Regions from separate parts of the Homo sapiens genome. Here region 2 is linked to region 1. Evidence: promoter capture Hi-C in human tissues and cell types (Jung and others, 2019). All regions are on one chromosome and are shown on one strand. The core of a region is centred on a gene start or on the middle of the fragment in contact, and the rest is flanking DNA. Distances in the headings are between cores, read along the strand shown. Region 1 holds the start of GSG1L (GSG1 like). Region 2 has its middle 120 kb from the start of LINC02195.

Region 1 (2,700 bases), core at 197-2,696:
TCTCACCTACCCCCCGGCAGATTAGCAGCAGCTGACAGTGGGTGCCGGCTCACCCACAGGAGTAAGGCAATTCATAATCGGTTAACCTTGAATTCTGCAAGGCCTGCCACTCGGCAAGCCGGGGGTTGTCGGAGCAGTTCTCAGCTTGGGCAGAATTCAAATGAGCTCTTATAATCAACATGCAATTAATTGTTGCACGCCCTGAGCATCTGGGCAGTAAGTGCTGTGCAGCGCGAAGGGAGTTCAGGGAGCGTGGTCATCTTAGAGCAGAGGTGGGGACGGGGTTGCACACAGTTTCCACGTTGCACAGGAGAGCCTGAAGAGGTTTGTCTGAGTTTGGTCAACTGATCTTGGTTCAGATGTCAGTAACAGTGAATTATTAATTGAGTCTACTGTGTGCCAAATGCTTTTTGCAGCCATGATCTCATTACAGCAGCCCACTGTGATATACCTTGAAGGGGGGGGGGTCCTCCCTTTTTTATAGTTATGGAAATTGAGGCTCAGAGAGGGTAAGTGACCTGTTCAAAGCCACACAGCTGGTCAAGCCCTAGATATGCTTGATCCCAAAGTCAGTATGTTTGGCCACCCTGCCCCCACCCGAATCTTGAAGATTCTACCCACATTCACATGGTGTGCATGTGAGCAGGGTTGGCAGCCCCTGTAGGGCACCACTGCCTGGTAGCTGCAATAACTTTGTGGCCGGCATGGGCCCTCCTAGGGTTCTGCTGTTTGGGATCTCAGGTGGGTGCAGTGGGCTGTCTGGGGTACCCTGTTGCCACTCTTCCTGCAGTTGCATGCCATGGTTGGGAGCCCAGATGACAGTTTCATCCTTGGAGGGGAGCTCTTCCCAGATGCTGGAGGTGACACCCAGGAGACAGAAAAACGTTTCAAACCCTATAACCCAATACTCCAGGAGGGGCGCCTCCTGACAGATTCTGCCACTCCAAGTCCAGCATGGGTTGTCTTATCCAGGGGGTCTTGCAGCTCCCTGGCTGTGGGAAGCCCTGCAGGCTCTGCTGTTTAGAACCTTTGGAAAAACTCCTTTCTCAGGGTCTGGTGCGGGGGTCCTTTTGGGGATCCCCTTCTGGGACAGGGTCCTGCTGGTCCGTGTCCCTCTTGGGGAGCCCCAGCAGGCTCTGCCCTTGTCTCCTGGGGCAGGGCCTCTCTGGGTCTCATGAGATGCCCGCTCCCGGCGGGTTTTGTTGCCCCACGTCCGCCGTGGGGATCTTTTCTCAGGAGCGCCTTGCCTGGGATTCTCCTTGCGTCTCAGACCCTCACCCTGGCTCGGATTTCTTTCGGGGGCGTCCCTCCACTCCCAGGCCCCCGCCCGCGCCCGGCGTGGCGGCCCCCTCTCCCCGTGCGGGCGGGCTCCGGAACAGTGTCGCCGGCCGCCTGCAGGTGTCTCCCCACGGAGGGGCGCGCGTCCCTGCGCCGTGGCCGCTGCCAGGCGCCAGCGGCTCCTAGCCGAGGTGCACTCGCGCTCCGGGCTCCGGGCGCGCCGTAGCCGCTCCTCCACCGCCGCCCGCCCCGCCAGCCCGCCCCGCACGCCCCCCGCGCCGCGCCCCCACCCCGGGGTTGGGGGGGGCATGGGCCCGCGCCGCGTCCGCCGCCGCCGATCTCAGGCACCCGAGCCCCGGGGCGCGGCGGGCAGCGGCCGCTGACGCGGGGCGCCAGCTGCCAACTTCGCGCGCGGAGCTCCCCGGCGGTGCAGTCCCGTCCCGGCGGCGCGGGCGGCATGAAGACTAGCCGCCGCGGCCGAGCGCTCCTGGCCGTGGCCCTGAACCTGCTGGCGCTGCTGTTCGCCACCACCGCTTTCCTCACCACGCACTGGTGCCAGGGCACGCAGCGGGTCCCCAAGCCGGGCTGCGGCCAGGGCGGGCGCGCCAACTGCCCCAACTCGGGCGCCAACGCCACGGCCAACGGCACCGCCGCCCCCGCCGCCGCCGCCGCCGCCGCCACCGCCTCGGGGAACGGCCCCCCTGGCGGCGCGCTCTACAGCTGGGAGACCGGCGACGACCGCTTCCTCTTCAGGAATTTCCACACCGGCATCTGGTACTCGTGCGAGGAGGAGCTCAGCGGGCTTGGTGAGTGCGCGCGGGCGGCGGCCAGCTCGGCTCCGGCTCCCCCGGGGCGGCGCGGCCATCGAGGCCCGAGCCCCGGACCCGTTCGCCCTCCTCCCGCCGCCTGGGCCCAGCTCCCAGCGCTCCGCCTGGCTAGGGGCGACGTTCCGGGGCAGGGGGCGCGCGCCGTTCCGGGGCCGGGGACCAGCATGGGGGGACGTGCGGGACGCCCCGCCGTGGAGAGGTGCAAGGCAGAGCTCCTACCCGCTGCGGACGCCCCGCGGCTTTGGGGACGCTCCCGCGCCCCGGGAAGGCGCCCACCCCCGCTGCCGGTCGGAGGGGCGCGCGCTGCTTTCCGCTCCTGAACTCATCTCCACGCTCGCCCCCTCCTCCTCTTCCTTTCGCGGGGCACTAGATGCCCCCACCCACCCCGGAACGCCCCTGGGGGTGGGGGTGATGCAGGGACTCCTGCTACCAGCCGCCCCTCCTGCCGCAGATCCACAGACCCGGGAGCCTTCCACCCCCATCGCCAACCCACGCCGAACCTCCCAGACGGGAGTGGGGAGTGGGGGAGTCCCGCGGGCTCCCGGAAAGCCGCACCCGCCCAGAGGCACCCCTATTGCCAGACGCCAGGGAGCCC
Region 2 (2,700 bases), core at 58-2,557, 1.6 Mb after region 1:
ATACCATAAAATAAGCTATATAAATGTGCTCTCTCTTTCTCTTTCTCCTCTGACCTCCTCTCAAAATATCCTAATATTTTCAGACTGCAGTTGACCACTGGTAATGGAAACTGCAGGAGTGAAACCATGTAAGCAAAACCTTGGATCCGCTACTATGTATCCCAGCAAGAACAAAACACTCTCAATTGTTATTTAGCCAAGCTCCATTCCAACTATTTTGTTTTATTTGCAGAGAACAAAATGCAAAAGGAAATACTCAGTGCTAGAAAATAACCCCCTAGGGTATACCAATGAACTGTTTGCCTAAAAATAAACTCAATTTGGCAAGAGCCACCTGCTGTTTCTTATAAAGTGACTGGGGAAACACAAATCCTAAGGCCTCGGGGACTTGTTCTCTTTCACTTCTGTTTCCAATTCTCCATACTCTATCCATTTTAAAATCAACAGCACTGAAGCATCATTTACATACAATAAAAAGGACATATTTTAGGTGTATAGTTCTATGAATTTTGGCCAGTTTATAGACCCGTGTAAGCATCATTCCCAATAAAGACAGAGAATGTTTCTCTCACGTCAGAGAGTTTCCTCAGGAGCCTTTTGCAGTAAATCGCCTCTGACTGCATAATCCAAGCAGTTGCTGATATGGTATCTATCGCTATAGTTTTGCCTATTTTAGAAATTCAAGTAAAGGGATCCTGCTTTCCTTTTATCTTACTTTTTTGCTCAGCATAATGCTTCTGAGTTTCATCCACATTATTGTGTGTATCACTAACTTGTTCTTTTTCATTGTTATCAAGTATCCTTTGCATAAATATATCACTTTTTCAAGCTTTTACCTTTCGCAAGACATTTGGGTTATTATGAGAAATGCTGCTATAAAATATTGGTGTACAAGGCTTTTTATGAACATATCATTTTATTTATCTTTTAATCATATAATTGCCAGATCCTATAGGAAGTGTATATTTAACTTTATAGGAAACCACCAACCCCTTTCCAAAGCAGTTGCAAAGCGTGAGGGTTGAAATTGCACCACATCCTGCATCATTCCCTTCTCCCAACCTATCCTCAGGCAGCCACTGGTCTGCTTTCTGTTCCTATAGACAAATTTTCATTCTGTAGAATTCTTATGAATTGAATCATACCCTGTGTACTCCTTTTGTCTGGCTTCTTACACTAAGAATAATTTTGGGATTCACTCATATTTAATAGTGAGAGGTGAAGCCGGCTTGGCTTCTAGGTCGGGTAGGGACTTGGAGAACTTTTCTGTCTAGCTAAACGTTTGTAAATGCACTAATCAGTGCTCTGTGTCTAGCTAAAGGTTTGTAAATGCACCAATCAGCACTCTGTAAAAACGCACCAATCAGCGCTCTGTGTCTAGTTAAAGTTTGTAAATGCACCAATCAGTGCTCTGTGTCTAGCTAAAGGTTTGTAAACGCACCAATCAGCACTCTGTAAAAACGGACCAATCGGCACTCTGTAAAATGGGCCAATCAACACTCTGTAAAATGGACCAATCAGCAGGACGTGGGCAGGGCCAAATAAGGGAATAAAAGCTGGCCACCCAACCAACAGCTGCAACCCGCTCGGGTCCGTTTCCATGTTGTGGAGGCTTTGTTCTTTGGCTCTTCACAATAAATCTTGCTGCTCCTCACTCTTTGGGTCCGCACTTCCTTTATGAGCTATAACACTCACAACAAAGGTCTGCAGCTTCACCCCTGAAGTCAAGCAAGACCACGAACCCACCGGAAGGAAGAAACTCTGGACGCATCTGAACATCTGAAGGAACAAACTCTGGACACACCATCTTTAAGAACTGTAACACTCACCACAAGGGTCTGCGGCTTCATTCTTGAAGTCAAGGAGACCAAGAACCTACTGGAAGGAACCAATTCTGGACACAATAGTTATCAATATTTTGTTCCTTTTCATTGCTGAGTGGTACACCACTGTGTGGATATGCCACAATTTATTTATTCACTCATCTGTTGATGGACGTTTTCATTATTTCCAGTCTTTGGCTATTACAAGTAATGTTTCTATATGCTTTTATTTAGAAGTAATTGTGTGGTCATATACTTTCATTTTTCTTGGATAAGTACCTAGAAGAATAGCTGGGCCATGTGGTATTATATGTACATGATTAACTTTTTAAGACACTGCCATATTGTTTTCCACAGGGGTTATGCAATGTTATATTTCCACCAGCAGTATGTAAGAGCTGTTTACTATCTTTACCAATATTTGGCATGACTTATCTTTAACTTTAGGCATTCTGGTGGGTACATGATATTATCTTGTTATGCTTTTAATTTGAATTTTCCCAGGGTTAATTATGTTGTGTATCTTTTAATGTGCTTATTTGCCATCTATTTATCTTTTTGTGTGAAGTGCCTGCTGAAAACTTTTGCTTTTTTTAAAATTTAGGGCATCTGTCTTCTTGTTATTGAGTTGTTAGAATTTCTTACATTTTTAAGATATAAACCATTTGATAGATGTGTTTTATAAATATTTTCTACCAGTCTGTGAATCACCTCTTTATTTTTGTAATAATGCCTTTTGAAGAGCAAATGTTTTACTTTATGATGAAGTCCAATTTATCAATTTTCTTTTACGAATTGAGTTTTTGGTGTTATTTTTAAGCAATATTTCCCTAATGCAAGAAGGCAACAATTTTCTTCTATGTCACTTTCTAAAAAC

What was found. The method cuts DNA at HindIII sites, captures the fragments that hold promoters and counts their contacts. A contact is called where the count stands out against the background at its distance.
Region 2: a contact is called between a fragment that was not itself captured here and the fragment with the promoter of GSG1L in region 1, in 1 of the 25 tissues and cell types used here (dorsolateral prefrontal cortex).

What each region holds. Positions count from the first base shown.
Region 1 is chr16:28,062,460-28,065,159 of GRCh38, reverse strand. It overlaps GSG1L (GSG1 like), which reads left to right and starts at 1,446. Exons shown (of 7, transcript NM_001109763.2): 1 at 1,446-2,084. The coding sequence starts at 1,736. The HindIII fragment of the contact is 12,466 bases long and covers 1-2,700 here.
Region 2 is chr16:26,473,363-26,476,062 of GRCh38, reverse strand. No RefSeq gene overlaps it. Among named protein-coding and RNA genes, the nearest start is that of LINC02195, 120 kb to the left of the region's middle. The HindIII fragment of the contact is 5,496 bases long and covers 1-2,700 here.